Linked DNA regions of Homo sapiens: region 1 is linked to region 2. The links are contacts of gene promoters, found by promoter capture Hi-C in blood cells and fetal thymus (Javierre and others, 2016). All regions are on one chromosome and are shown on one strand. Each heading gives the region's core, a stretch centred on a gene start or on the middle of the fragment in contact. The rest is flanking DNA. Distances are from core to core; before and after follow the strand shown.

Evidence for each region. The method cuts DNA at HindIII sites, captures the fragments that hold promoters and counts their contacts. A CHiCAGO score of 5 or more calls a contact.
Region 1: a contact is called between the fragment with the promoter of BTG3 here and the fragment with the promoter of RWDD2B in region 2, in 1 of 17 cell types (fetal thymus). The highest score is 6.0, in fetal thymus.

The regions. Positions count from the first base shown.
Region 1 is chr21:17,609,259-17,614,541 of GRCh38, forward strand. It overlaps BTG3 (BTG anti-proliferation factor 3), which reads right to left and starts at 3,643. Exons shown (of 5, transcript NM_006806.5): 1 at 3,441-3,643. It overlaps BTG3-AS1 (BTG3 antisense RNA 1), which reads left to right and starts at 2,428. Exons shown (of 1, transcript NR_149073.1): 1 at 2,428-4,856. It also overlaps a transcript of CXADR not described here. The HindIII fragment of the contact is 7,083 bases long and covers 1-4,423 here.
Region 2 is chr21:29,017,268-29,022,703 of GRCh38, forward strand. It overlaps RWDD2B (RWD domain containing 2B), which reads right to left and starts at 2,082. Exons shown (of 5, transcript NM_016940.3): 1 at 1,944-2,082. The coding sequence starts at 2,010. It overlaps LOC124905005 (a long non-coding RNA gene), which reads left to right and starts at 319. Exons shown (of 2, transcript XR_007067836.1): 1 at 319-980; 2 at 1,646-4,061. RefSeq lists an enhancer at 1,923-2,172. The HindIII fragment of the contact is 4,408 bases long and covers 1,037-5,436 here.

The DNA.
Region 1 (5,283 bases), core at 2,393-4,892, about 11 Mb before region 2:
TTTTATCTTGTATTTCTTTGGCTTATATCTGAAGTAGAGAACAATCTACTTATCTTTATGCCATAAAGGCCTTATTATAAAATACTACTTAAAAATCTTATCACTTAGCTTCATGAAGAAATTCCATAAAGATAGCACGTTGCTCCTGTTGGCTAAAATAAAACCACACCTATCAGTAAAAGAGAAGCACTATAATAAATGATACGACATAGATGTTACTGTGTGTGTCAATATTTAGCTGCAATAATCTAAGTTTAAAATTCTGTGAAATGATTTGAACTTTAAAACATAAAAAAAGTCTACTTTAAAATCTAGAACTGTAGAGCTATTTTATAACAGAAAAGTTCGGCAGTTCCTAGAAAGGTTAAACACAGAGTTATCATATGACACGGCCAATTCTACTTCTATTTGCCCAAGAGAAATGAAAACATATGTCCACACCAAAACCTTGTACAGAAATGCCCATAGCAGTATTCATAATAGCTAAAAAGTGAAAACAATATGTTTACCAACTAAAGAATGGACAAATACTGTGTTATACACACGTATGGAATATTATTCAGCAATGAAAAGGAATGAGTACTAATACAAGCTACAATATGGGTGAACCTTGAACACAGAAATGCCCACAGCAGTATTCATAATAGCTAAAAAGTAAAAACAATCTATATGTTTACCAATTAAGGAATGGACAAATACTGTGGTATATACATGTAATGGAATATTATTCAGCAGTTAAAACGAATGAGTACTAATATAAGCTACAACATGGGTGAACCTTGAATACATCACACTAAGGGAAAGAAGCCAGTCACAAATGACCACATATTGTACGATTCCATTGATATGAAATATCCAGAATAAGCAAATCTATATAGACAGAAGACAGATTAGTGGCCTACGGGGAAGTGGGAAACCAAGAAAAGGAGCATTGCTAATAAGTACAGGGTTACTTTTTGAGGTGATAAAAATATTTACTAAATTTCACTATAGTAATGGTTGTACAACTTTGTGAATATACTAAAACCATTGAACTGTACATTTTAAATGGGTGAATTGCATGGTATATAAATTAAATCCCAAAACTGTTCTACATAAAAAATTTCAGCATTGACTTTCCGAAAGTACTCTTTCAGGAAGAGAGATACATTTATCCACAAGTTAAGAGACACAAAAACTAGTGGATCTATCAGGACATATTTAAGAAATGGAAATTCAGGTCACCCGCAGAAAAACAAACTAAAAGAAATAATCAGAGATTTAGCTACATTTTGGATTGCCTCAAAGGACTTTAAAAATGGTATATCTGATTTATCATTGATTAATCCTTAAGGGCAAACCCTTGTCCTAAGATTGTTTTGATGTATGTTGTCTCTACTCAGTGAGCTCATTCATCTGGCTGCTGTAACCTGGAGTTATTAAGATGCTGCCTTTAGTAAGCAACATCACCTTTTTGGGAGCCAATTACGTATTAAAAACATACAGCCTCTGCTATGTTTAGCATAAAAACAACTAACCTAGCAGTAGTTTGTGTTCCCACATTTCCAAAAAAATAAAGCTGATTGTTAGCTTTCTTTTCTCAAACTGCTCTTTCAGTCTCTCTTCAGAATATGACTCCTTTATTCCAAGTGCAAATTCAAACAAGGAACCTCACTGTGAAATAAATTCTACACAGTTATCTGAGAGGTGTGCTGGCAGCCGCAGATAGCCTGATGGAGGGGAAGGCACACAAATCTTCCTCCCAGAACCCTAGAATGAGAAATTCACCTTCTACAGCCAGCTAGCAGGCACCGGGCATGGGTCCACACACGAGTGTACACGTATACATAACCCCAGCCCACCACGACTGCTGTGCAGCCTCCTCCTGAAAAATGTAAGCCATTTCCACTTTGTAAAGCTACGTTTATATTCCACCACGATACGATGGAAAAGAAAACCCAAGGCAATTTAATATACGGGTTGGGAAGAAAGTTTTGCTGATGGAACTACATTAGCCTCCACTCCAGCAAAGCAAACAAGGAACCACACTAAAGAAATGTACTGAATCTTTTAACTAGATCTTTCTCCTCATTCATTACATTTGCCAACTATGTGCCACATATCTGAGTTCTGGATTTGTTTCTGTTTGCTCTGCTTCATATAAAAAAATAGAAAAGAAGGAAAGAACCACTTAGTGGTTGCTTTTGGTTGTAACACAAGATGACTCATTTGGACTTTTGTTTTCCCCGTTTGAAGAAATGATAGCTCGAACAGCTGAAAAATAAGCCCACTCCCACCAGTATTCTAGGAGTACCAAAAGGTGAAAGAGGGAGAGTTACAGTCAGGGCAAGAACCACCAGAGGCAAGCAGGGCCAAGAAGACCTCAGGCGTCTTGAGTAAGTAGGCGTCCTCCACCCACACTCAGAGCAAAAGGCTCCCATTTTAAATATCGCACGGTGACGTCATCCTGGGACCTCGTCACCGCGGCGGCTGCTCCTCAAGTTCTACTTTGTTCCACAAGGCTCCTCTGCTCACGGCTGCGTGGATAAAACCCAAAGGGAATCCAGAATCAAGCTCGGCCTCGCAGGAGTTTATAACTTTTGTACTTTTCCCTCCCTTGTAACGAAAAGCTAATCGCAAACGTTTCTAGGAACACATTTTTCTCCTGATAGACGTTCCCAAGGTGGAGGGCGCGAGAAGACTGGCCCGTGGGGTGAGGAGCCCCGGCCCGACCTCAGCGGCGCCACAAAGCCATGAAGAGGGGAAATAATTTTCCAAGGGGCTAAGAGTTGGACTTTCTGAAGCCATCGAAACCTGCTGCTAGGCTCTCCCGCTGGGGTTTTGAGAGAGGTAGGTGAGGAGGGATCAAACATCTCCACCCGCTCTTGAAAGAACCGCCTTGAGCTGCGCCCAACTTCTGCAATCCCGGTTTTCCCCAAGTTCAAGGGGAAGGGCCCTGGCGCCCAATGCCCAGCCTCCCCGACAACATCCTCGCCAGGGTGCGCCTGCCCCGCGGGTCCGCTGTCCCCGGCGGGCGGCCCTGGGTTCGAGGACCCGGCTTCCCGGAGGCGCGACTCTCCAGCAAACAAGCGGAGCTCCAGAAAAAACACCGACGCGAAGGGGGTGGACAGAGGGTGGGAAGCCGCGGGGTTGTCGCCCACCCGGAGGCGGAATGTAACGCGCTGTGGGAAACGTGGCAGGAGCCCTGAGGCGGCGTCTTTTTCCTCAGGCGCCCGCCGAGGGTCCCGCGGAAAGCCTCGCGGGCCGCCCTCGCGGCCCGCAGCCCCGCTCTGGCGCCGAGCCGGAGCCCATGCAACCTGGTTCCATCCCCTGCCCCTCCCCTGTCCCCGGTGCGCCGCCCGCCAGCGAGCCTTCGACGTGGCCGCAGGGGCGACGGGACCACCCTCCCCCGATACCCACAGCCCCGCCATGTCTGCCTTTCCCCGGCCCGGTCTCCTCACCGCCGCTGCCGCCGCCGCTCTTCGGCCGGAGATTCGGCGGCCCAGACCGTGTCCTGGCCGGGAACTGAGGGCTCCGCCTCAACGGGCCCGCGCTGGGCAACAGGGAGCGCAGCGAGCCTCGTCCGGCGCGTGCGGCTCCCGCGTCGTCGGGCGGCCAAGCGCGCGTTGAGAGGACTGGCGGGCGGACGAGCGCGCACACGAGTGAGCGCAGCCCCAAAGCGGCGCGCAGGGGGCTCGCGGCCCGGAAGAGGGGAGGGGCGATGACCCGGGAAAGGGTTGGCGCGCGCGGGATCGGCTCGCGCGCCTGAGGGGCGGTGCCGGGGGCGGGGCTTCGCCGCGAGGCCACCCCCGAGCCCCGGGCCTAGCCGCACGGGAGGCGACACACCCTCGCCCTACCCTGAGCCTGGCGCAGACCCTCGACCGCGACGGCGCGGTCCGCAGAACCGCGGGCTTCCCTCCCCGGCAAAAAGCGGCGCTGAAGGCCTGTGGGACCCCCGCCCGGCCGCCCTACGTGCGTCAGCGCCTTCGGGGGTCGCGCGGGCTTGGTCCTTTCGGCTGTCTCGGCCTTTTTGTTTCCCCCTCAGGTCTCTCCACGCTGCACTTGACACCCTCAGGGCGGAATGGCGAGTTCTAGACCCAGCTCTCTAGACCCGGGGCTTCATGGGGGACACGGACTCGACGGGAAGGGGAACTTGGCATTTATGGACAGATCCTCATCCTTCTTGCTGTAGTCAATTACACGCACGTTAACCGTGCAGCCGCCCTGCTGTATTTTAGGCGGTTGTTGGCACTCCTAGTTGGGCCCTTCCCTGGCCCCTCACAGCAGGGCCTGCCTCCTGTGGACGCTTGTGTGCTGCCCTGGCACCGGCCACTGTGTTTTGCATAAAGGAGAGGCTCCAAAGATGTTGGCCAAAGGAATGAAGCCTTGAGAGTCCAGGCTTTCTATTTCTGAGACACTCTACTCAAGGACTTCCCAGATGCAAAGCTTCATCTTTGAGCAAATACAAATATGGAGAGGGAACATTAACTTTCTGAAGAAAAGAAGGAACATCTTTTCAACCTTTTATATTGAGTTAACACCATGGTCTTAGTTTTGTGAAAGCACTTTAATACATCCAACTAGCGGGAGGAATACAAGATATTCCTACCTTTTTATTATTATTATTAAAAGAGGGCTAAACCATGTTGTAAACTACTTAAGAACTGAATGTTCAAGTTGTACAGTATATTGGCCAGATTCCTTACTGCCCACTAGGCTTGGGAGCATGTTTTCAGCTCAGTTTTATGAATGTTTTAAATTTGTATTACTGATCTTTGTTATAGCCAATTAGCAATTCAAAATGGTAATTTTTTTAGCAGTAATAAATATACCATCCCCCAAACAGTACAATAAACTTTATTTGTAAAAAAAAAAAATTATACTCTTCTAGGACTTAGTCTACTTACTGGTACATTTAAAGAGGATATTTACACCTTGGAGTCTTCTAGGAGGTGTGAAGGTGTTTTTATTTTAAAATCATAACAATCTGATGAGGTTATTTTTACAGATAAAGGCCTTTAATTCTGCAGTTTCATAAAATAGCTAGGTAACCACCCACATTACTCAAAATTTGTCCAGAAATTTCTATAGTTTAGGATTAGTATTTTGTGTAGTATTTATAAATCTGTGGTCCACATTTTCCAGTCTTAGAGCAGTACCATATTCAAAAAATACAGGCAAGAACCTGAAACCCAATTTCAAAATGACTTTTAAAAAATTCTCAGGCTGGGCACTGTAGCTCATGCCTGTAATCCAGTACTTTGGGAGGTCAAGGAGAGAGGATCATTTGACTCCAGGAGTTCA
Region 2 (5,436 bases), core at 832-3,331:
ATAAAACAACTCTACTGGTGGGAGGATACCATGACATCAAAAACAAATTTATACGCCCAGCCCAGGTGCGGTGGTGGCTCACGCCTGTAATCCCAGCACTTTGGGAGGATGAGGTGGGCGGATCACCTAAGGTCAGGAGTTTGAGACCAGCCTGGCCAACATGATGAAACCCCATCTCTACTAAAAATACAAAAATTAGCCAGGTGTGGTCGCCCACGCCTGTAGTCCCAGCTACTAGGGAGGCTGAGGCAGGAGAATCGCTTGAACTGGGGAGGCGGAGGTTGCAGTGAGCTAAGATCATACCTCTGCACTCCAGCCAGAGCAACAGAGCAAGACTGTCTCAAAAAAAAACAAAAAAGAATTTTTGTACCCAGTGAATAACTGCTATGAAGAAACCTGAAAAAGAAAACAAGGATAAGGGAAACAATGAGGCAGCAGGGGTGAGACTGCACACAGCATTGTCAGGAAAGGCCTTTCTCCTAAGGTGACTGTAGGGAAGAGACTTTAAGGAACTGAAAAAGGAGGCCATGTGTTTTTCTTGGCCAAGAGTGTTCAAGGGAAAGCGAACAGCATATTCAAAGGCCTTGAGGAAGGAGGGTGCTAGAACAGCTGGCCAGAGCACAGTGAGCTGAGGACACGGGGAATAGAAGAGTTTAGTAAGGAAATGTGGGGCAGTTTATGTTGGGACTAGTAAAGCATGGCCAGAATTTTGAATTTTATCCCGACTGACATGTAAGAGCTACAAGAGAGGTTTGACTTATGAAGATCCCCACACTTGCTGCTATGGAGAAAAGTGAAAGGAAAAGTGGGGTGACCAGATATAGACACCGCAATAACTAGGGAGAGATGATGGTGGCTTTGATAGGATTATAGTGGTCAAGTTGGTGAGCTTCAGGTTCTGGATACATGCAGAGAACAGAGGCAACAGGATTTACAGATGAATTACATGAGACACGGAAGAATGACTCCGGGGCTTTAAGGTACTGAAAGTATGGATCTGCCATTTATTTAGACGTTGATGGTCATGGGGAGCTGAAGCTTGGTTTTAGACACAAGTAATGAAGTGCCTACTAAGACACCTGTTAAATAGAGAGGTCTAGCAGGCAGTTAGATGTATAGTTTTGAAGTCTACGAGAGACTCAGCTAGATATATAATCTTGGGAGTCAACACTTATTTGGAACTATATATTTGTTTAAAGTCTCCCAGGGAGTGAGTAAAGTTGGGAGAGGGTGCTATTGAATTGGAGGTATCGAAGATGAAATGGGATTAGCAAAGAAGAACGGGACGGAGGGACTCTTGAACGGACAACTACGGGAGTGATGTCACAGGTCATTTATCTGCCAAATTATTTTCGCTTAAGAGATTTCAGTCCTTCCAAAAAACCCTCAAGATAATTTTATGATTCAAGATTTCAGCGAATGCTGTAAGATAATAGACTGTGGCCGGGCGCGATTGCTCACGCCTGTAATCCCAGCACTTTGGGAGGCAGAGGAAGGGGGACTGCTTGAGCCCAGGAGTTCAAGATCAGCCTGGGTAACATAGTAAGAGCTCGCCTTTATTATTTTTTTAAAAAATAAAATATATTTAAGAGAACGCAGACTGAAACTTGAGATTTCTGAGTGGAATAATATCTTTTCCTTGCAGATTTTTTTTTGAAGAACAGAGCAGGGTACCCCGCGACCCAAGCCAAGACGCTCTCAGGAAGAAAGCCCAGCACGCAGCCGCCCTCGCACCCTGATTGCCCCCGGGGCGAGGTCCCCGGCTGGAGCAGGGCTGCAGAAGCCGGGAAGCAACGCCGAGGACCGAGCCGACCGATGGGCGCATGCAGTGAGGGGAACCGGGGCCGCCATGCCGGGCACGTTCCCAAAGGGTTGCACTGGGCGCTGCAGCGTGGGAAACCCCCGTGGCGGTCACCACTGGCGCTAGCTGAGGCGAGACTCACCTTGAGCCGTGGCCCCCTCACTGCTGTAACCCGGGTTCCATGGCTGCATGGACAGCTCAATTTTCATCAGAAGGGAGCCTCAAAATTCTAGCATACTGCGACCCAAAACTTACAAACCGCCTCAGCTGGCGACCTACCGGAAAAAAAAAAAAAAAGCATGCGGCGCATGCGCGTCCAAGGCCGCGGACCGGAAGCTGGGGCTCGCCTGTTGGGAGCCGCGTCCGCCGGTGTTGGTGTCTGCACTTGGAAGGACGTAGGGAATGCGTTGTCCCTGCTAGGTACTTTTCAGTCGCAGAGTTCTCTTCTTCTTCTTTCTTTCTTCCTTTTTTTTTTTTTTGAGACGGAGTCTCGCTGTGTCTCTCAAGCTGGAGTGCAGTGGCGCGATCTCGGCTCACTGCAGCCTCCGCCTCCTGGGTTCAAGCGATTCTCCTGCCTCAGCCTCCCGAGTAGCTGGGATTACAGGCGCCCACCACCATGCCCAGATAATTTTTGTATTTTTCAGTAGAAATGGGGTTTCACCATGTTGGCCAGGCTGGTCTCGAACTCCTGACCTCAGGTGATCCACCGGCCTCGGCCTCCCACAGTGCTGGGATTACAGGCCTGAGCCACCGTGCCCGGCCGGAGTTTTTCTACTTAATACCTCTCCATGCCAACCCCGTTGTCATTTCCCAGCGGCCGCCTCTATAACGGGCACTTTTCAGGGACAAAGAATTGGTCCGTTAATGTTCCTCAAATTCGAACGCGCCTAGGAATAGTTCGGGGATCCTGTTGAAGTGCAGATCAGGATTCCGTAGGTAGGGGTGGGGTTCCAAATTCTACATTTCTAGTATCTTCCCACACGATGGTGATCCTCCTTGTCCCTGAATCATGGAGGAGGGCAATTAGGGAGATGTGAGCCTGGATGCATGGTGGCCTTGGCTATCTTAGGTGTTCTTGCCCATTAACCAAGCTGGGAGGAACCGTGTGAATGCATATCTATCCCTGTTAATAAAAGGGTAGTTTGAAGGAGATGCTGACAGGAGAATAATTAGAAATGTTTTTCTTCCCAATCCAACTATATGCAATACACTTTATAATATTCATTTTAGAAATGTCATAGATAAGATTTGTAAACATTGACATTTAGCAATACTAAATATCACTGCTAGGTCTCCCCTCCACTTTTTTTTTTTAAACAAAAATACGACAGTATGTATTGTAGGTCTTCATAAACTACGTCTTCTGCATAGTGTTTCATGAGCGTTTTTCAATGTCATAATTTATTTTTTCCTCCAACATTTATTATGAAAAAATTCAAGTGTAAAGCGAAGTCGAGAGAATTTTACAGTGGAGCAGACCTCAAGAGAAGGGGAAGGATGGATTTCCCCTCTATTTAGCAGTGTCTGAAGACATTTTGGGTTGTCACAACTGGAAGGATGGTATTGGCATGGGGTAGGTAGAGCACAGGGATGTTCCTCAACTTCCTACAATGAACAGGACATCCCCCGACAACAACAAATTTGCTGGTCCAAAATGTTGATAGTGTTGAGGTTGAAAAACACTGACCTGGAGAGTACAGAATTTTACTCTACCAGCTTTGTCACATACCTCATCAATCTATCTGTTTTCATACATTTAAAAGTAAACTGCAGACAGTACGCTTCTAAGTACCTCTAATGCACATCATTGGAGTTCAAATTAAGGATTTTTTAAGGTAAAAATGAAATGCATACCTTAAATACACATCAGTTTTTAAATGCACACGCCTATGGAACTCAAGCCATATTAACATATAGAACGTTACCATCACCCTAGAAAGTTCTTTCATGCCCTTTCTTAGTTCCCAACCAGTTCTCCCCAAAGGTAACCACTGTTCTGATTTTTTCCCCCACCATACTTATTTTTCTTGTTATAGAACGTCATATGGTTGGAGTCATGCAATAGATATTTTTGTGTAAGGGTTCTTTCACTCAGGGTAATATTTTCATCTGATATCATGTGTATCACTTTCTTTTGATTGCTCAGTAGTATTCCATCATATGAATATACCAGTTCCATTCTTGTTTTGATAGAAACCTGGGCTGTCTTCAGTTTTTTGGCTATTATAAATAAAGCTGCTGTGAACGTTCTTATATAGCATTTTATTGCTCATGACTTTCTTTTCAATAAATATTTATCGAGCACTTACTATATTCCAGGCATTTCCAGGTACTAATTATAGCCATGAACAAGACAAAGATGTCGCATCTCTCAAAGAGCTTATATTTGCACATTTCTGTGTATGTATGAAGAGGGCTAAACATAAAGGTAAAAATAAAAGAAAATTATGGGCCGGGCACAGTGGCTCATGCCTGTAATCCCAGCACTTTGGGAGGCCAAGGCGGGCAGATTACCTGAGGTTGGGAATTCAAAACCAGCCTGACCAACATGAAGAAACCCCGTCTCTACTAAAAATACAAAAATTAGCTGGACATGGTGGTGCATGCCTGTAATCCTAGCTACTGGGGAGGCTGAGGCAGGAGAATTGCTTGAACCTGGGAGGCGGAGGTTGTGGTGAGCCGAGATCACGCCATTGCACTCCAGTCTGGGCAACAAGAGCAAAACTGCGTCTCAAAAAAAAGAAAAAAAAAAAAAATTATGGCTGGGTATGATAGCTCATGCCTATAATCCCAGCACTTTGGGAGACCAAGGAGGATCACTTGAGCCCAGGGTTTGAGACCAGCTTGGGCAACAGAGACCCCTAACTCTACAAAAAACACAAAAATTAGCCAGGTGTGGGGGCGTGTGCCTGTAGGCCTGTAGTCCCAGCTACTCAGGAGGCTGAGGTAGGAGAATTGCCTGAGCCTGGGAAGTTGAGGCTGCAGTGAGCTGTAACTGCACCACTGCACTCCAGCCTGGGCAACAGAGTGAGACTCTGTCTCAAAAAAAAAAAAAAAAGAAAGAAAATTACCAGATAGTGGATAAACTGCTGGGCAGAGAAGTAAAGTAAGGTGATGTGAGTGATCAGATGACTGTGTTACTTAGATTGCCCTGTAACTGGAAGGAAGTGACTTTTAAGGCATGTATAGAAGCTGGGTGTGGTGACTCACACCTGGAATCCTAGTGCTTTGGGAGGCTGAGGCTGGAGTATCGCTTGAGGTCAGGAGTTTGAGACCAGCCTGGGCAGCAGGCTTTTGTAGAGACACGGTGACTTCAAAAAAAAAAAAAAAAAGTTAGCTGATGAGGTGGCACACACTTGCAGTACCAGCTACGCGAGGCTGAGGCATGAGGATCACTTGAGCACAGGAATTCAAGGTTACAGTGAACTATGACTGCACTTCAGCCTGGGCTACAAAGCCAGACCCTGTCTCTAAAATAAATAAATTAAAAATAAGGTGTGAACAGAATGACAATAAGATACCAACCCCGGAAGATCAGGGGGAAGAGGCTTTCTGACAGGAAGCACGTGGTACAATGACCCTAAGGCTCTGTTTTAAAATGCGTGGGGGCAAAAAGCCTGCATTTCTGGAGCTTG